Linked DNA regions of Homo sapiens: all the other regions are linked to region 2. The links are contacts of gene promoters, found by promoter capture Hi-C in blood cells and fetal thymus (Javierre and others, 2016). All regions are on one chromosome and are shown on one strand. The core of a region is centred on a gene start or on the middle of the fragment in contact, and the rest is flanking DNA. Distances in the headings are between cores, read along the strand shown. Region 1 holds the start of ANKRA2 (ankyrin repeat family A member 2). Region 2 holds the start of TRIM23 (tripartite motif containing 23). Region 3 holds the start of BDP1 (BDP1 general transcription factor IIIB subunit). Region 4 overlaps MCCC2 (methylcrotonyl-CoA carboxylase subunit 2).

Region 1 (4,864 bases), core at 963-3,462, 7.9 Mb before region 2:
CATATTAGCTTTCATAGGAGCAATAGACTTACCATCCATTATAAGGGCACACTGTAATTTACTATACCAGTCCACTACTAATAGACATGGGTTTTTCAAGATTTCTACTATTACAAGCAATACTTCAATAAACATCTTTACACATATGAGATTCAAATTTTAAAATTTAATTCATTTGGCATTGATTGATCATCTGTTCTGTGCTAGGCATTTGTATGGTTAATCTGATTAAGCAGTATGGACTTTTACATAAAATTCCAAGAAAAAATAGATATCAAATTATCTGCCCAAACTATAAGCTGCTGATAGATGGTTTTCAGTTAATAATTCTCTGTTAGAGCATCCAGAGTATAACATATGCTAGAGAAATTGGCATAAACACAAATCCCTTCTCCCTCATTACGTCCCACACTCACCTTATAGTTGTTCCAGTACAGTGTATCTTGGGTGATTTTTTCACCAAGTATAGGATATGTCTGAATAGCTACAGGCTTATAACCAGCCATAATTCCATATAATTGCACTATTGTCCAAGAGTCACTATTTTGGAATTGGTATTAGAAATAATTACAGTGACTCTGCCTTAATTCTGAAAAATAAAATATTTTATATACATATTATAAGCTTGTACACATAGTTGATTTTCACTCTGCTTTCTTTAAAAAGTCTGTGTGGAAGTATATAGATTAGAGACCAATAAGCCATTTAATTCTAACCCAGAAAAGGCAATCTATAGGAAGCAGGAATAATTAAAGTGAAGGCTATCATATCGCACCATCTATTCAGCTGTACACAAAGGTTCTCACACCTAGCCAACCATTTTACAACACTTAGGAATAAATCTAGCACAGCCTTACAGTAGCCAAACCAAAAAGGATCATGCTGGCTTTGAGTGTCCATTTTTTGGCAACAGGAAATATTAAGGTGAAACTGCAAATACAAGTTTCCTGAAACCAAGTTTAAGATGACATTTAATCTATAACAATTATAGTTACGGATTTGATTTCCTGAAAGCCTAAAAATGCCAAGAAGTAAGAAACACAAAGCTAATATTCTAATGTAGAAGCTTAAAATTAAATTTACTTTAAAAGGTTTAAACAGTAGGAAAGAAAACTGTAATAAAGCAGTCCTGAAATTAAATTCAACACTAAAGTGGCAGAATAGGATAAAACTTTTAAATAACATGCAATCAAGCCAAAACATTTTTCCAGAACGACTCAATTGCAAAAGAGATTCAATGTTATCAGGTAAATGATTCCAGAGGTGCTGCTCATCATCTATTCCAAAAAGCCTGAAAACTTTACATTAGTAACACCACGATAAATAGGTGTAACATATATTTAAAAGGTGCTTTAATGAAATACAATGACCAATGATTGTATTTCACTGGTCTTTGGGAACACTCTTCTGTTCATTAAAGTACCTACCAATGTGCAGGACACTGCTCTAGGCACTGGGGCTATAATGGTGAATGAAATAAAGACATGGTCTGTGCCTTTGCTTACTCCAATATACTCCATTTTGGCTGGTGACTGGCACCAGATATTAACCTAGACTCAGCCTTGACGTGTCCTTTTCTTCCTCACTCCTAACATCCAAATAGTTAACAAGATCTGCTGATTTTATCTCCCAAATATTTTAAAACTCCATTAGGTTCACTTCACCTGAGGGAGCCTCGTAAGCAAAGGCAAAGATGGAAATGTGTCCATTGCCTTGGAGAGTTGCTGATTACTCCGGGAACTAACAACGGTGGACAGGAAAGGGTGTAATCGCAGAGAAGAACCTAGGTCGAAGCTTAATTGAGGGGAACTTGAGCCGGTTAAAGAATTTGGCCACTCTCCTATATAGCCTGGGAAGCCCCAGAAGAGCATGCCAGATTAACACAGGAAGGCCGGGTGTGAGTGTGGGCTTCCCTCAATGGGAGCCGCCTTCACCTACCTCCACTGAGCCCCAAAGGGTCCGACGAGACACCTCGACCCAAGGACAATTAATCGGACTGTGCCAGCTCCCTACCCTGCACAGTTCAGCAGCACTGGCGTAAAAATCACATGGACCCTCAAGGAGCCGGCGACACACACAGCGAACCGAACGTCGCGCGAAGATGACGTACCAGAGCACGCTCATGAGACTCACGCAGCCCGGCGGCGCAGAGGCGGGTCAGGTGGGCGGGGCGATCTGGAGTAGGAGGTGTGACCGGAGGGCGAAATTGGGGCTTCCTCTGCTCTGGTGACCCAGAACCGTCAACTGAAATGACCCTGTCTGTGTAGTACTCCGGCAGGATGGGCCTCGGAGCGTAAAGGCGGCAAAAACAAAAATATTAAAAAAAAGGAGAGAGGGACAAAAAAAAGAAAACCCGAAAGTTTCAGCTGCATTGCTGCGGAACGTTTTTTAGCCAGAAGGCGAAAGAAGAAATCGGAAGTGACGTCGCGGCCAAAACAAGCCCGGGCTTGGAGGCCTGTACTGAAGCTGGCCTCAGATGGGAAGGCCCGACTCGCTGTCTGCTGTCGTCGGTGGTCGCGAGACCTTGCACTCTCACCGGGTCGGCCTCCAGCCCCTGTGCCCGGGATCCGCTCGCCGCGGATGAGCGAGAGTTTCTTCCTGGGACTTTTCGGGCACAGCTGGCCGGTGGCGACAGAACGGACTTTCTTTCCTGCAAGAGTCTCCCCTCCAGCGGGAGACAGCGGGCTCCTGTCTCGGGACGCTGGGACACCTGTCGCCTGTGAGGCATCATTTATTTTCATAGCACCTTCCTCTCCTTGTAGAATAATTCCAGGATCAGGAAGAAACGAGGGGCTCCTGTTATTAGCATCCACAGGAACTAGCATAGCTGCCCACTTTATCTCCGTAGACTCTCTATCCCTTCATCCCTGGGCTCTGACAGATCGAGGTGAACCTAGCTATCGATTGCCTTACCCCCTTTTTCTCACCACCACCTCTTCTAAGTCCTGTTACCCCACTCCCCTCACCCCCGCCTCCCTCTCCTGTTCTTCAAAATTTTGGCCTACCAATCAACTTTGCTTCTCCTCTCGTTAAACTGCTGTGCCAAGATAAGCGTTCATTTTCCACCCACCCCCTTCGCCTAAGCACATTTGCTATTCTCCTCTCGAAGACCTGTAATTCCATCTATAAACCCTGATTTGTAACATGGAAGCTGTTTAGAGCTGGAAAGAATATTAGAAAGGCCTATTTCAACACCTTTTTATAATAGATGAATTTCAGAAAACTTGTATTATTTATTTGTCCAGGAGTGGCCAGCTAGTTAGTAGCGATGTTGGGAGTGGAAAGCCAGGTCTAATCAGCAAATGTTAGAAATAGAAAAGAATATGGAAAAAATTGTTAAAGTTAAGATCAGAAAACATTTATGGAGCACCTGGTAGGACCAAGTACTGTTCTGTGTGCAAAAATTAGTAAGAGTGGTCCCCATCCTAGGGGAGTTTTCAATTTAGCTGTTATTTAAATGGAAATTGTCAAAAGGATGGTGAATGCTAAAATACAGATACATGCAGGGTGCTCAGAGAGCTTAGGGGAGTTGCACTTAGCCAACCGCTGGATAGGAGAAAGGGGGAGATGGTTCTTCCCTCAGGAAACACAGTTCACATTGTCCAGTCCCTTTTAAGACGCATGGACTAATGCATTGCACATCCATCTCCCTTTGAATCACTGAACTAATTTTCTTTTCTGGTTTCCTTCTTTTTGCCCAAATGTATTAACCTTCTTACTTCCTGCTTTTTTTTTTTTTCCTTACTATACTATGTGTTATTTATTCAACTCTCTCGTGGAGATTTTGGCTTTGTTTAGGGCTGCCTCATTTTAATGGTCAGAGTGATGGAGTCAGAAGAGCTGAGTAAGCCCTCATAATTCATGAGCTTCCTTTTTTACCCCTCCTAGGTGGACATATGATTACCTGACCTGCCTACTCAAAGGATTGTTATAAAGACTAATCTTTGAAAATGTTTTTAAAATTGTAGAAGGTGGTTATCTGTAAATGTATGGTTTCGCGACCCTTGCTCCACTGCGATCCTAATGCATTTTTCTTTTAATTCCAATTCCAATTTTGAAACACCCTGCACCCTCTCAAAATTCCTAAGAGGCAATTAACCCTAACATGAAAAAATTAACTGGATGTTATTAATTTCCTTTCTGTCCCAAATGATAATGTATCTAAGACAACTATACATCTTGGAAAGCCAATCCATAATCTACCTACTTTATTTTTCATGAAAACCTACATTAAGTTGCTAATGCTTAATCGGAACAAAAATTCATAAATGTACCTTCAGTTCATCAAAACCAAAGCTTTGTAAAGCCTTTCATGGTCTAGGAATCACAGGTGTTATAGATGACAATGCCAATAAACTTGGATACAACATGAATTATCATTTCTTAAATTCAAACTAAGGGCCACCTATATAAACATAGCATATTAAAGAACTAACCTTAGGTAAGAGATTAAAGTTTATTTTCATTGTTAGCCTGATCTTTTATCCATTTGGTGATATTCAGATATAGGAAATGGGAGAAACAGTAACTAAAATGTATTGGAATTTAATGATGGAGGTGAGAATATCACTGTACAGTATTTCATTTGGTCTTTACCAGAACCCTATAAGGTTAATGGTGATATCCCTATTTTATAAATGACACGGAAGCTCAGAGGGATTGAGTAACTTCTACAGGTCACACAGCTAATTAATGGCAAAGTTTGGATTCATACCCAGGTTTCTCTACCTCTGAACATTATATTCTTTCTATTATGTGTAGGTGCTTTCAAGAGCATTGTTACAATACTTGATTGAAAATGATTATTTTGTGTGTTTTTACCTAAGCTGATAGAATACTTTTAATTTTCTAATTTTTTCTTTCA
Region 2 (5,487 bases), core at 1,020-3,519:
ACCACGCCTGGCTAACTTTTTGTATTTTTATAGAGACGGGGTTTCACTATGTTAGCCAGGATGGTCTTGATCTCTTGACCTTGTGATCACCCGCCTTGGCCTCCCAAACTGCTGGGATTACAGGGGTGAGCCACCACGCGCGGCTGCAATTTAACTGTTTTTAATAGCTTCTAATTTGTATAAATCACACGTAGCAGTTAATAGAACTGTTCCAAATTCCCATCGGAGTAGCTGGTAGAGGAATTATCTCTGAGAATGCTGCTTCATTCTTTAGGAGGCAACACGGACTCTTGGAAAGAGAGGCAGGCCTTGCGTTGAAACACTGCCTCAATCACTAGCTATGTGATCTTGGAAAAGTTACTTAAACTCTGAGAATTAATATTTACTCCACATACTTGAAGTGAGATTGTGAGATAAAGAACACGACAATTAGTTGCTTTTCTTCTTTTCCCTCTTCTCCACGAGTAACAATCCATTTTAATCTCCATTTTAGTCTAGATCATTTGCTCAGGTTAAGCTTACAGGTCCCATCACTGTATCACTAAACATTACAAAGTTCCACAGTAAGAGACAATCTCGCTAACACAGGCATCATTATATGAGACTGATGAGCTTCTAGAAAGTCTGATGACTACATCATAATGGGAAGGATAAGGCGTTCCTCAAAATGGATGCCATAAGTAAAGTAAGCGCAATTCAATTGAACCCGAATGTTTATTGAGCATTTCCTCAGCTCATTCAAGAAGTCATTGTTAACCATATATTAAGGCATCCAAGAAACAAAAAGCGCATTTGTTGTAGTAAAAAACAAATAAAATAAAGCTGAAAAGATTTCAAATAAAAGGTTTCCAGAAAATAGGCATTAAAAAAATTGTCCTAAAAAAAAAAGTGCTGCTGTTTTTTCCTAAATAATGATCTAATTAAATCACCAAACTTACTCAAAATGGCTGTGTACAAAAAATGAGAGTTGACATTAGATCTCGGACATATTTCCCACATACACAGTGATTTGAAGTAAACTGCAGTTTGTTTTGAATAAATCTAAGTTATATGTTGTATTACTATGTATTGCTAAATTCTCTGCACTACTGTCATGCAATACTAATTTTACAGGGGAAGCTGAAGCCTGATTAACTTCGTCAGTGCCACAGGAAGAAACAAGAGACAGAAGGAAAAAGCACTTTGGATGCCCGCTGTAATTCACAGAGATCTCCACGGTAGGAGCGGGACGTCAGCTTCTGCGGCTAAAATCTCGTGACTGAAGCAGCACAGATCAGAAAGAACGATTTACCAGGTATCTATTTCGTTCTAGAAAGGGGCCCATAAACCTAAAAAGCATCCAGGAGAAATCGCTTCCTCCCGCTTGGCGGCAAAGGACAGAGCAGGAGGGCGAGCACTGAGTGTTTAAGAAGGATGAGGCCTACATGGCAAAGGCTTCGATAAGTAGGGAATGCAAGGAAACAGAAAAGGGGGAATCAGGTTCGCAAAAGTTTACCTTTTAGCGCCAGCAGGTGCTCCTGTTTAGGGGGATTCACTTCCATTTTGACCGGCACTTTTGACCCACAGCCTACGGGGGCTGGACAGGTTCAACTTGCCCCGGAAGGAAACGGAAAACCTCGCGTTTGGCAAAACCAAAAGTCAAACGCACTCTCAACCTCTCTCTGGTGGTGGTACCTTAAATTCTCCTACTGTGTCCTTTACAAACTGGCTTCTTTTCAACAAGTCCATTTCTTCTATCTTAGAAACGTAGGCATAAAATACTTTGTTTTCCATCTGCAATCACACATCGCGACTGCAGGAAAAGAAACCACCCCTAGGTAACAATACGCGGCCTCCCAAAGGCCAACGTTGCCGGAGTTTTTTTTTTAAAAAAAAAAAAAAAAAAAAAAAAGAGAGAGAGAGAGAGTGGCATGCTGGGATTTGTAGTTTATACAAAAACCGCGTTGCATGCAGGGAGATGCCCGTACCCCCTCACCGCCCTCAGTTCACGCCCTGGCTGGTTTGGATTCGAGAGGAAAAATCATTAAAGGATCTGGAGTTTTCACCCCAAAACTTTAATCGTTTTGTCCCTTCTTTTTTTTTCTTGTCTTTCCTCCAGCAGCTGCAGACTACATAATGAAAAATAACAAAAGTGCCCATGCGCGAGGCTGTGCAACTAACCACCCGACGATTGCGGGGAGGAGGAGTAAGAGTCGGCTAAGCGGCGCCCAGTGTCCTACTGCGCCTGTGCGCCGGTGGCGTGCGCAGAGGCCTCTGGGTAGGTGGCTCAACCCCGCCTCTCAGTTGAGGACTCTGAAGGCTGTTTCTGTGGCGCTTCCCCTGCGAGGATGGCTACCCTGGTTGTAAACAAGCTCGGAGCGGGAGTAGACAGTGGCCGGCAGGGCAGCCGGGGGACAGCTGTAGTGAAGGTGAGGGACCTTGCGTGCTCTATTCTCCACCATCGGCCTCCCTTCGGTTCATCCTGGAGACCTGGCGGCATCGCCGCGGCCCAGGCTTCGATAGGTGGGATGCGCGGCCTCTGGGCCCCTTTTGGCATTACAAGTCTCGTCCTGTCCTCTGCATCCTTTCTCTCCTATGGCCTGAAATTGCCTGGTCTTCTGCTCATGACATGTCATCATCGGGACATTTGTGAAAAGGAGCTTGCGGGCCAGTGGCAGTGACCTAGACCGGTCTTTTCTCCAGGTCCTCTGCTTTTAGTTAAACTCAACAGACATTAATTAGCTTAGTATTATAAATTGAGTCATCATCATCGTAACTACGTACTAAGTTAGGTGTTTTAGCTCGTTAATATCTACTTATGAAGTAGATGTGAATTCCCATTTTACAGGGAGGAAACCCAGGTTTAGGTAAACAGTGTGTGGCAGAGCCCCGGGTTGACCGGCTTTAAAGTCTGTACTTTTCGCTCTTGTACTGCGTCTGTAATCAGACATCTGTTATTGGGTGAGCTGCCCCCTCCCCTGTTAGTAGTACAGTCTATTAACTCTTTGCACAAGTCTGCAGCATCGTCATAGCTGGGCATTAACGATAGAGTTTATGAATTTTCTTATGCTTGAAGTTTGAGATTCTACCATGTATACATGCTCCAGAATCAATTTGCTAAAAAATCATTTGAAATATGTGGCACTCATTTTTCCCTTCCACTGTTGTGCACGGAAAGATATGGAGGGGAGAACTGATCCCATTGGTTTATAGAGTAACCTTCAGGAGCATCTCTAATCTAAGAGATTGATAATTCTCATTCCTGGCTACATATTAGGATCACTGAGGAGTTTTAGTACACTACTGATGCACTCCTCCTCCAGTTCTGATGAGGTTGACATCAGTATATTTTAGGAATTACCAGAAGTTATTTTAATGTGCAACCAGGGTTATGAATTACTGATCAAGGTAATATATGAAGTTTTTTTCACATCTTGAAAAGTAGACACCTATGATTATTCAGGTAATGTTGGTTTTATATGACAGCAAATGAGACATTTCTTCCCACAATTTAGTATCAGTGAATATTGGTGGTTGTTGATTCAGATGACCTTTAGGTACTAATGAAGTTATTCTACAGGTACACGGCATATCTGATATGCAAAGGAGCCCTCATTATTAGGCATGTTGTGTGACTGAGATTTTATTTATTGAATTGTGCTTTTGCTAAGTAGAGAATACTTGAAGAGCAGTTTGTGAATTAACTTGAAGTTTAAGTTTTATTTCATAATTGGAATGGGTATCATTGCAGTATCTATTTTTTTGTTACCCTGTTTGCCTTACAGTCTCAAAAGTGTACCAAAGCCTGATGTAACTCCAGTTTCTTACAGCACAGAATTTGATACATTGGAGGCTCACCTTGTTCATTTTCATCTTAACATGTAAAATATTCCTGAACTGTGCAATGAAATAGTCCTTTCTGACAAAATCTTCATGCCATAATTTGTAGTAGGTATAGTAGCATAAACTAAAAAAATCTCACTGTCATTTCTATAGATGAAAGCAAGAAGTATTTATTGGAAGGTAAAAGTTGAAGTATATAATGCTAATACTGTGTAAAATGGCCTTTTGCTTGTGAACAAGTTGATAATGACATGGCTTTTATCATTAGAGAAAACAGTAACATAAAAATCTGATATTGTGGCTAGGCGCGGTGGCACACGCCTGTAAAGCACAAAGTGCCTGGGAAGCACTTTGGGAGGCCAAAGTGGGCGGATCACTTGAGGTCAGGAGTTTGAGACTAGCCTGGCCAACATGGCGAAACCCCGTCTCTACTAATAATACAAAACGTAGCCAGGCATTGTGGTGTGGGCCTGTTAATCCCAGTTACTCAGGAGGCTGAGGTAGGAGAATCACTTGAACCCAGGAGGCGGAGGTTGCAGTGAGCTGAGTTTGTGCCACTGCATTCCAGCCTGGGTGACAGAGTGAGACTCCATCTGAAAAATAAAAGATAAAAAATCTGATATTGTGAAATAACTGACATTTAAAAATGTATCACAGAAAGTTTCACACCTTTAATCTCAGCACTTTGGGAGGCTGAGGTGGGAGGATTGCTTGAGCCCCAGAGTTTGAGACCAGCCTGGGCAACATGGTGAGATCCTATCTCTACAAATAATAATAAAAAAAAATTAGCCAGGCGTAGTGGCACATGCCTGTGGTACCAGCTACTTGGGAGTCTGAGGCAGGAGGATTGTCTGAGCTTGGGAGGTCAAGGCTGCAGTGAACCATGCTCAGGCCACTACTCTCCAGCCTGGCTGACAGAGTGAGACCCTTTCTCAAAAAAAAAATAATAATAATAATAAATAACAACATAAAATAAAATATCTGATTGATTACAGTTTGATTTACAAGTAATAAGTTTGAAGCTTTTTTGGCATTTTTTGAAGTGTAAAATTAAGAGCTTTTTCCTATCTAGGGTTTTTTGCTGTTAACCACAATTCCTATTTATAGATACTGAGGAAATATTTTCTTGCTGTATTATTTACCGAGTTGATGCAAAATAGTCTAGTAACTTTATTTTTGGACCTGTGTTTGGTTTGCTAATCAATGGAATTTTATTAGTGCTTTTTGAAAAATACATTAACAGCATAAGGAAGTTCTTTTAAATCTTTGTATAGTGATGGGATCAGAGATACAGGATTGAAATGAACTAAACAATTTTAATATGGTTCTTTGGAGTTTATTGTCATAAATTTACTTTATTAGAGTATCATAATACAGCATTTATAAAATGTTGCATTTATTTTATATCAAATTCTATTGTGAATTTTTGAGACAGAGCCTCACTCTGTCGCCCAGGCTGGAGGGCAGTGGCACAATCTTGGCTCACTGCAAGCTCCGCCTCTTAGGTTCATACCATTCTCCTGCCTCAGCCTCCCGAGTAGCTGGGACTACAGGTGCCCGCCACCGCGCCTGGCTAATTTTTTGTATTTTTGGTAGAGATGGGATTTCACCACGTTAGCCAGGATGGTCTCAATCTCCTGACCTCGTGATCTGCCCGCCTTGGCC
Region 3 (4,847 bases), core at 37-2,536, 5.8 Mb before region 2:
ACCTTCCTATCACAGCATAAACAGAATTTGTACTATCTCACTTCACTTAACAAGGCTGTTTACTGATTTCCTCATATATATAGAAACAGAGACCATCTTAGCCTAACATGTCTTAAATTTACTCCATCACCTTTCTAAAAAACTAGTAACTTTTTGCGGGCAACTATTCTGCTATATCCCCTGCAAGGTAGTTAATATGAATTATCTCCAATCTGCACCAAAACGCTCCAAGTAGGCAATATTATTCCCATTTTGCAGATGAGCAAATTCTGCCTGAGAAAAGTTTACCTGTAGACTAAAAGAGTCCTGAATCCAAATATGATACATGACGCTAAAGCCATGCTTCTCTATTCAGGAAACACGGTCACCATAGTTAAAGAGGCACACTTCAATTAAGTGACCAGAACTCTTACTCACTGACATAAATCGGTAAAGCCAAAGCAATACTTATCTTCTCCTTTAAAAAATAAATATTTTATAAATTGAAAGACAAAAACACTTCCCTGCAAAGCACTCCAGAAGGATGAAAACTATAGTGACCTAAATTCTCAAATGAATAGTGTGGATATTCTTCACTTCAGGACTGCCATACCCCGATTCTCCCTACCACCACTTGAAGACATGGTCTCCTCTCGGAGAATCTATAGACCGTGACAAAATCCACACAAGCCACACCCTGCAGGTCAGACAACTAAACTGCAGTTTGGAGTGGTTTCATCAAGCCTCAACTGAAAGGCTTACTGCAAACGAGAGCGGACTCCTGTGATAAAATTCATTTGCTCAGCTTCCAGGTGACATGCCCGGAGAGGCGGGACAAATGAAAATTCTTCCCTCTGCAACCTCTTACCTGCTCCTAGGAGCCTTTTCTTGGGGCTCCGCTCCACCGAAATCGACTGTGGGCACATCTGTGGGCTCCGCGGGCTTGGAAGCAGAGTCCGTGGCAGGATCCGGCGGCCTGGGAGACTCCCGTCCACGCTGGGGATTGGAAGCTGTGGAGCCCCTGGCGCCTACACCAGGCCTGACATTCGGCTTCACGCTAAGGCGTGCCCTGCGGAACATGGCGGAGGCAGGGGGCCCGGGGAGGCAGCCTCACGGCCGCTCACAGCCCCGAGCCCCGGCGGCTGCCCGGAAAGGGGATTAGGAACTACGCCCTCCCCACAAAGCCACACCACCAGCTCAGGGGGCAGCTACCGTAGTTTCACTGCCCCGCCGCCGCCTCCTCCTCTCTCCCGCCGCCGCCGCTTTTTCATGACCCTGCCACACACCGATGGCTAAATTTCACCCTCCTCCCAGCATCCCCGCGCTCACAGGACGCCGCAACTGATTGCGCCATCAGCCAGCGCCGCAGAATGACGTCAGACGCACAGCACTGGGAGCCATGGTAACTACCAAGCTACTGAGACTGGGTTACCTGCGGACCAGAAATTGAGATGCAGAGATATTTGCTCTTTCTTCTCCAGGAGTCCTTAGGAGTAGTTGAAAAGAGGAACAGAAGAAAGTCCACTTCTCTGCTCAAACCTTTACTGGAACTATTAAAATCGCTGGCCGATTTTGTCTTTTGAAGATCCTGAAGGGTTTAGAAATTCTAAATTGAGTAGACATAGATTAAAAATGCTGGTGTGAAGAAACTGATAATAGTTACCTCCCAGGAGAGGAATGTGTTTCTGGAAAACACGTCGTGGTAGGAAGACCATTTACCGTACGCCTTTGTGTACTTTTTTGTTTTTGTCCTTTGAGACAGGGTCTTGCTCTGTCGCCTAGGCTGGAGTGTGCAGTTGCGCGATCTTGGCTCACTGCAGCCTCCACCTCTCGGGCTCAGGCGATCCTCCCGTCACAGCCTCCCAAGTTGCTGGGACCACAGGCACGCGCCACGACACCCGGCTAATTTTTTTTTTCTCGTATATTTAGTAGAGACGGGGTTCATCATGTTGCTTAGGCTGATCTTGAACTCCTAGGCTCAAGCGAGCCACCCATTTGGCCTCCCAAAGTGCTGGGATTACAGACGTGAGCCACCACGCCCAACCTCCTTGTGTACTTTTTAATATGAATGTATCACCCGAGATCGTACCACTACACTCCAGCCTGTTTAAAAATTATTATAGTTGAAACCTTGTAAATTATTGTGAGTGTTCTTAATCTGCTTCAGGAGGTAGCAGTAAACAAGACGTTCTGGATTTGGGAGGAGAAAATACAAAAAAGAAATGAACAAGATATTTTTAAAATGTATCAGGCCCGGCGTGGGTGCCTCATGCCTGTAATCCCAGCATTTTAGGAGGCTAAGGCAAGGCAGATTGCTTGAGGTCAGGAGTTCGAGACCAGCCTGGCCAACATGGTTAAACTCCATCTCTACTAAAAATACAAAAATGAGCCAGGCCTGGTGGTGCAAGCCTGTAATCCCAGCTATGGGAGGCTGAGACAGGAGAATGGCTTGAACCCTGGAGGTGGAGGCTGCCGGGAGCCAAGATGGCACCACTGCACTCTAGCCTAGGCAACAGAATGAGTGAGACTCTGTCTTAAAATAAATGAATTAATTAATTAATTGCAATAAAATAAAGTATATCAAATGTCATGAAATAAATTTAAGGGTTGAATGCCGGGTATGGCGAGGCACGCCTATAATCCCAGCTACTGTGGAGACTGAAGTGGGAGGATCTCTTGAGCCCAAGACTTCCAGACCAACCTGCTCAAAATATTGAGACCCCTAAAACAAATTACCTACATGCGGTGGCTGTGATGGCTCCCACCTCTAGCTCCAGCTACCTGGAAGGCTGAGGCAGGAGGTCCAGGCTGCAGTGAGCTATGATAGTGCCACTGCCCTCCAGCATGGGTGACAAAGTGAAACCTTGTCCTTAAAACAAAAATTTAATAATAAGAAGAAAAAAAAGAGAGAAATGTACAGGATGATGTGATAGAAAGTAATGGGAGGGAGGCTGGCAGTAGAGTGGCTAGGGAAGTCCTCTATGATGAGAGGAAAAATAGCCAGAGCTGAGGTTGGCCTTGGAGGTATTGGGCCAATGTTTGAACCAGTGATACAAATCCCCTGACTCATGGGAACACAAAGGCCTGACTTTCTTCTTAGAAGGAAAAGAAAATCCTACAAGAATATGGTGATACATTAATAACAAAAGGTCAAAGGAATAAAATTCTGAACTGACTGAAGAAATTGATCACCTAAAGGGAGAACAAAAAAGAGGCAAGTGCTTTTGAGAGTAGGAAGGCAAGACTGAAAGCAGAGAAGAGAAAACATATATCTCTAAGACTATGAAGAAAATGAAGGTCTGGAGGCCAGGCACAGCTCGTGCCTGTAATCCCAGCACTTTGGGAGGTTGAGGCAGGCGAATCACTTGAGCCTAGGAGTTTAAGACCAGCCTAGCCAACATGGTGAAACCTCATCTCTACCAAAATTACAAAAATTAGCTGAGCATGGTGGCTTCTGCCTGTAATCCCAGCTACTCAGGAGGCTGAGGTTGGAGGATTGCTTGAGCCCAGGAGGCGGAAGTTGCAGTGAGCCAAGATCACACCACAGCACTACAGCCTGGGTGACAAAGTGAGACCCTGTCTCAAAAAAAAAAAAAAAAAGAGAGAGAGAAAGAAAGGAAGGAAGGAAGGAAGAGAAAAGAGGAGGTCTGTGGATTCCGTGGGCTCCCTGCAATACTCTGGAAAAGGAACAGTATCTCAGTTTTATCTTCTTTATTTAAAGAAGCTCAAGAATTCGAGAGAATACCCTGCTAAAGATGTCTCAGGAATCTTGGAGCCACTGCCAGGTCTACACAGCTTTGAACAGCATATTCTGATACCAACTGAAGACACAGGGCCTTTCCCCAGATGGTCTTCTGTTCCACTTAAGAGACTAGGGCATTGTCCCAAGTTTTTACAGGTCAGAAAGTAAATAGTGACTAAGATTTAATTTCCCACCAGTAAAGGGATGGGAACAGAATCAGATTAAATTTTATTATTAAATATAAAGTCATAAGACATTTGTTACACAAGTTTGTGGAGTAAATTCTTAGTGGCATCATACGAATTTTTTAAATCTCTACTTTTCTCTGAGAGACACACACAACACATTTTGTGTACATGGGGTATATCATGTGTAGCCCTACAACTTAAGAACTGCAAAATTTCAGCTGCAAAGAAAAATGTTCAATTAGATTAAATTGAGAGCACGTACAAAAACAACTCTGCTACTCACCGGCCGGGCGCGGTGGCTTGCGCCAGTAATCCCAGCACTTTGGGAGGCCGAGACAGGCGGATCATGAAGTCAGGAGATCGAGACCATCCTGGCTAACACGGTGAAACCTCATCTCTACGAAAAAAAATACAAAAAACTAGCTGGGCGTGGTGGCGGGTACCTGTAGTCCCAGCTACTTGGGAGGCTGAGGCAGGAGAATGGCGTGAACCCAGGAGGCAGAGCTTGCAGTGAGCTGAGATCGCACCACTGCACTCCAGCCTGGACGACATAGGGAGACTCCGTCTAAAAAACAAAACAAAACAAACAAAAAAACTCTACCACTTACCTTCCAATCCCACCCCATTCCCTCTTTAGATGACCTTATCTCTATAAAGAACTGTGCCAGAGGTTGGAATGGTTGAAATCTCATGCTTGAAATCCCAGCACTTTGGGAGGCCGAGGCAGACAGATCACACGAGGCCAGGAGTTCAAGATCAGCCAGGCCAACAAGGCAAAAAACCGTCTCTACGAAAAATACAAAAATTAGCCGGGGCAGGGTGGCAGCCGCCTGTAATCCCAGCTACTGGGAGACTGAGGCACAAGAATCGCTTGAACCTGGGAGGCTGAGGCTGCAGTGTGCGGAGATTGCGCCAGTGTACTCCAGTCTGGGCAACAG
Region 4 (4,922 bases), core at 944-3,443, 6.0 Mb before region 2:
GCTTGAACCCGGGGGGCCAAGGTTGTAGTGAACTGAGATCGCGCCACTACACCCCAGCCTGAGTGACAGAGCAAGACTCCGTCTCAGTAAAAAAAAAAAAAAAGAGAGAGACTTAAGACAACATCACTCTTTAGCAATTCTGTCTAGAGTGGGGCCTTACAATTTGGAGCAGCTGGTGAATTCTGGTTTTATTAGGAAGAACCAGAAAGAGGGTTATCCTTGATGCAGGCTCACAGAGCACATAATTAAGCTCCCCTGACATTTAATTCTTGGCAAAGCTGTGACAGCCAAGTTTGTCCTTTCCCCCTTCTCCCTACCTCCTTCCCCAGGGAGTCCGGCTCAGTCCTCTACCCTCCTGTGGCCACCAGCCTGCACCACGGTTCCTCAGCATCCACCATCCCCAGCAGGCACCTGATGCCACAGGACTCCTCAACCCTCCATTGAGTCAAACCCACCTCTTTTTTTTTTTTTTTTGAGACGGAATTTCGCTCTGTTACCCAGGCTAGAGTGCAATGGCACCATCTTGGCTCACTGCAACCTCCGCCTCCCAGGTTCAAACAATTCTCCTGCCTCAGCCTCCCGAGTAGGTGGGATTACAAGCATGCGCCACCACACCCAGCTAATTTTGTATTTTTAGTAGAGACAGGGTTTCACCATGTTGCTCAGTCTGGTCTCGAACTCCTGACTTCATGTGATCCGCCCACCTCGGCCTCCCAAAGTGCTGGGATTACAGGCGTGAGCCACTGTGCCTGGCCCCAAAACCCACCATCTTAATGTCTAAGGGGGACAGTGAGTTCACCAAATCAAACTCTCAAAATGGGCATAACAATTGAGTTATCACCCCTAACAAAACACTTTCATTTCAGCAAGAGTTTGAATTCTTTTTCTGGAGACAACACCTTGATCTAAAATGGCTTCAAAAGTATGAATTCCATAGCTGCGTACAGGGGCACAGGTACAGTCTCAGCTACTTGGGAGGCTGAGGCAAGAAGATCACTTGAGCTCCCGACTTCGAGTCCAGCCCGAGCAACAGAGTGAGGAGACCCTGTCTCTAAATAAACTAGTAAATAAGCAATTCTAGACCATACTTTCCAAATCCAGTCTTCTTCACTATTTTTATACTCCTGAGATCCAGTATTTAAACTACTCTAACCTAAATGTAAAATTTTACATTAAAAGTATTATATACAATTTTAAGTATTATATACTTGTTGATAAAAGTTATCTGAAACAGTCTATCAAATATGAAGAATGCTTTCCATCTGAGATTCAGCACTTAGGGAGGAAATATTAAATGCCTACTAAGAAATCACTGGCCAGGTGTGGTGGCTCATACCTGTAATCCCAGCACTTTGGGAGGCCAAGATGAGAGGATCGCTTGAGCCAGGGGTTCAGTCCAGCCTGGCAATAGAGCAAGAACCCATCTCTTAAAAAAAAAATTAATAAAAATTAAAAATAAATTATTTATTCATAAAATTTATGAATTTGAATCTTTACTTTTCCCCCCAAAAGTGGTAGTACTCTATGAAGAGAAAAACTGGCCAAGTAATAGGAAAAATAAAATTAAATGCCTGCATACCAACAAATGCATAGTCTTAAGAGTCAAAAGCTCAGCCAGGAGTAGTGGCTCACGCCTATAATTGCAGCACTTTGGGAGGCCAAGGCAGATGGATCACTTGACATCAGTAGTTCAAGACCAGCCTGGCCAACATGGTGAAACCTTGTCTCTATTTAAAAAATACAAAAATTAGACAGGCATGGAGGCAGGCACCTGTAATCCCAACAACTTGGGAGGCTGAGGCAGGAGAATGGCTTGAACCCAGGAGGCGGAGGTTGCAGTGAGCTGAGATGGCGCCACTGCACTCCAGCCTGGGCAAGAGAGCAAGACTCCATCTCAAAAAAAAAAAAAAAATATCAAAAGCTTAATTCCAGTATTTTTCCTAAAAGCAATAACTATTTTAGGACATCTTAAGTAAAGGCATAAGCTGTGGAATAAATGCTGTGTTTACCTAGTTTTATATGCTCCACTCGTTCATGGAGCTGATTTACTAGTGCTTTCATCTGCTTGTAGTTCTCCTAAAACAGAAATAGAGGAGACAGGGGAGAGAAATATTAGAAAGCAATTCCTTTTTACCAAAATAAAGGTCAAAAAAAAAAAAAAAACAGTGGTCTGTGCCAACTCTGTGTGGCCGCCACACTGGGCCACCCCATCTGTGGCAGCCACGCTGGGCCACTGGATCGTATGGAAAAGATTCACCCCTGCCTGTCTTGTTCAAGCTCTTCTTCACCACCCCACTTGTCCATCTCTCCATATCTTACTCCTCTGTAAGCCTAATTCATGTTTTATCTCATCTTCAACTCTACTTCTGGCCACTCCTACTCAATTTAACATCTTTCTTCCTTAAACACCTTCTGAACTTAAACTGATCTCTATTTGTTTTCCTATTTTAAGGAATATAAGCTTTTTGAAGGTTAGAATACCATCTTATTTTTCCTGTCCCATCAGTCACTATCTGAGATTCCAACCAATGCTTGCTTACTGACAAAGTACACTTAAAAACAAATCCCAGAGGGAGAAAAAGGATCTTATTTTTATTTTTAATTTTGTATTTTTATTTTTTGGGACAGAGTCTCCCTTTGTTGCCCCGGCTGGAGTGCAATGGTGCAATCTCGGCTCACTGCAACCTCCGCCTCCCGAGATCAAGCGATTCTCCTGCCTCAGCCTCCTAAGTAGCTGGGACTACAGGTGTGTGCCACCATGCCCAGCTAATTATTGTATTTTTAATAGAGACCGGGTTTCGCCATGTTGGCCAGGCTGATCTCAAACTCCTTACCTCAAGTGATTTGCCCATCTCGGCCTCCCAAAGTGCTGGGATTACAGGCATGAGCCACCGCACCTGGCCAAGGATCCTATTTTATGTTTTAAAAAGAACAGGCTGAGTGTGGTGGCTTATGTCTGTTATCCCAGAGCTTTGGAAGGCGGAGGCAGGAGCATCGCTTAAGCCCAGGAGTTTGAGACCAGCCTGAGTAACATAGGGAGACTTCCATCTTTACAAAAAGAATAAAAATAAAAAGAATAAAAATTTAAAAATTATCTGGGCATGGTGGTGTGTCCCAGCGACTTGACCAACTAAGGTGGAAGGATCTCTTGAGCCCAGGAGTTTGAAGCTGCAGTGAACTAGGATCGTGCCATTGTACTCCAGCCTGGGTGACAGAGCAAGACTGTTTCAAATAAATAAATAAATTAGTAAAAAGAACAAAACTCGGCCAGCCGTGGTGGCTCACGCCTGTAATCTCAGCACTTTGGGAGGCCGAGGCGGGCAGATCACCTACGGTCGGGAGTTCGAGACCAGCCTGACCAACATGGAGAAAACTCGTCTCTACTAAAAAATACAAAATTAGCCAGGCAAGGTGGTGCTTGCCTGTAATCCCAGCTACTCGGGAGGCTGAGGCAGGAGAATCCCTCGAACCCGGGAGGCGGAGGTTGCAGTGAGCCAAGATTGCATCATTGCACTCCAGCCTGGGCAACAAGAGCAAAACTCCATCTCAAAAAAAAAAAAAAAAAAACAGAACAAAACTCTATGCTGGCATATATACACAAATTAAGTAATACACAAGGAAATATTGACAGTGAGAAGTAGAAAAGAGGTAGAGGGACTAACTTTTCACCCTTCTGTATTTTTAAATTTTGTTTGGTCAGCATATTACTTTAGAACAATACTTAACTAGCTAATTATCTTTGAAATTCAGACTTGGCCCACTAATACATTTTGCTCCCCATGTGATTAGCATCTCTAGTTATTTAGTTCCTTCTGTTTGACAGAACACTAAGCAACTTCCTAACTGTTCAAACTTAGATGAATATTCAGTCTACAGTATATCTCCATTATTTCCTATTTTCTACAGCTCCAAGAGCTCTGAGGGTCATGATTTCTGCTACATTCTCTTGCTCTGCAAAATCCAGAAAATAAAAAACAAGGAAGCAGCATGGTATTAGGGAAAGAACCAGTTGGAGCTAACACAATATACAGAACTTGTCACCCTACAACAGCAGAAAAAAGTATGTAACTTTTCTCAAGTGCACAGGCAACATTCTCCAAGATAGACTACATGTCAGGCCACAAAACAAATCTTAATAAATTTTAAAAGACTGAAATCATACAAAGTATCCTTTTTTTTTTTTTTGAGACGGAGTCTGGCCGTGTCGCCCAGGCTGGAGTGCAGTAGCACAGTCTCAGCTCACTGCAACCTCCGCCTCCCGGGTTCAAGCGACTCTCCTGCCTCACACTCCCAAGTAGCTGGGATTACAGGCGTGCGCCACCATGCCCAGGTAATTTTTTTATTTTTAGTGGAGACAGGGTTTCACCATGTTGGCCAGGCTGGTCTAGAACTCCTGACCTCAGGTGATCCACCAGCCTCGGCCTCCCAAAGCGCTAGGATTACAGGCCTGAGCCACCATGCCTGGCCCAAAAGTATCCTTTCAATCACAATGGAATGAAACTAGAAATCAATGGCAGAAGGATGACTGGAAAATTCACAAATATATGGAAATTAAACAACGTACTTTTAAGCAACCAGTGGGTCAAAGAAGAAAAGCACTGACCCACTGAAGCTGACATTTGCCTCTACAGACTGGGCAACATCTGTGCCAAGCTCAGCCCATCAGACTTAAATCACAGAAGAGCCAGTACTGGCTACAGTTCACCTCCCAGGCAATCCTTTATCAACCAACCTAGCCTCCTTAGGATGAGACTCACTAACCAAGAGGCAGTGTAGTTTAGTGGCAAAACCAAGTTCAACTTTCAGTTTCCCTACTTACTGATACTGCATTTGGCAAATCTTGATCTCTCAGGACGCCAGGTGTTTGTGTTTGTGTGTGTGTGTGTGTGTGTTTTAATCACCTGCGAAACAACATTCTACAA

The links. Contacts are between HindIII fragments. The CHiCAGO score rates a contact against its expected background, and 5 or more counts as called.
Region 1: the fragment with the promoter of ANKRA2 here is called in contact with the fragment with the promoter of TRIM23 in region 2 in 1 of 17 cell types (total CD4 T cells); the score reaches 5.3 in total CD4 T cells.
Region 3: the fragment with the promoter of BDP1 here is called in contact with the fragment with the promoter of TRIM23 in region 2 in 2 of 17 cell types (total CD4 T cells and non-activated CD4 T cells); the score reaches 14.5 in total CD4 T cells.
Region 4: a contact is called between a fragment that was not itself captured here and the fragment with the promoter of TRIM23 in region 2, in 2 of 17 cell types (naive CD8 T cells and non-activated CD4 T cells). The highest score is 5.8, in naive CD8 T cells.

What each region holds. Positions count from the first base shown.
Region 1 is chr5:73,562,987-73,567,850 of GRCh38, reverse strand. It overlaps ANKRA2 (ankyrin repeat family A member 2), which reads left to right and starts at 2,212. Exons shown (of 9, transcript NM_023039.5): 1 at 2,212-2,719. It overlaps UTP15 (UTP15 small subunit processome component), which reads right to left and starts at 2,108. Exons shown (of 13, transcript NM_032175.4): 1 at 1,939-2,108; 2 at 417-589. The coding sequence starts at 506. RefSeq lists enhancers at 1,843-2,397, 1,969-2,528, 2,539-2,748, 2,769-2,818, 2,398-2,952. The HindIII fragment of the contact is 2,502 bases long and covers 1,797-4,298 here.
Region 2 is chr5:65,621,115-65,626,601 of GRCh38, reverse strand. It overlaps TRIM23 (tripartite motif containing 23), which reads left to right and starts at 2,269. Exons shown (of 11, transcript NM_001656.4): 1 at 2,269-2,408. The coding sequence starts at 2,328. TRAPPC13 (trafficking protein particle complex subunit 13) reads right to left here and starts at 1,575. Exons shown (of 13, transcript NM_024941.4): 1 at 1,496-1,575. The coding sequence starts at 1,541. SHLD3 (shieldin complex subunit 3) reads right to left here and starts at 1,575. Exons shown (of 2, transcript NM_001365341.2): 1 at 1,496-1,575. RefSeq lists enhancers at 2,060-2,139, 2,270-2,599. The HindIII fragment of the contact is 4,327 bases long and covers 520-4,846 here.
Region 3 is chr5:71,452,090-71,456,936 of GRCh38, reverse strand. BDP1 (BDP1 general transcription factor IIIB subunit) reads right to left here and starts at 1,286. Exons shown (of 39, transcript NM_018429.3): 1 at 848-1,286. The coding sequence starts at 1,059. RefSeq lists enhancers at 499-1,424, 1,425-2,351. The HindIII fragment of the contact is 8,261 bases long and covers 1-4,847 here.
Region 4 is chr5:71,590,080-71,595,001 of GRCh38, reverse strand. It overlaps MCCC2 (methylcrotonyl-CoA carboxylase subunit 2), which reads right to left. Exons shown (of 17, transcript NM_022132.5): 2 at 2,010-2,076. Among named protein-coding and RNA genes, the nearest start is that of MCCC2, 5.2 kb to the right of the region's middle. The HindIII fragment of the contact is 540 bases long and covers 1,924-2,463 here.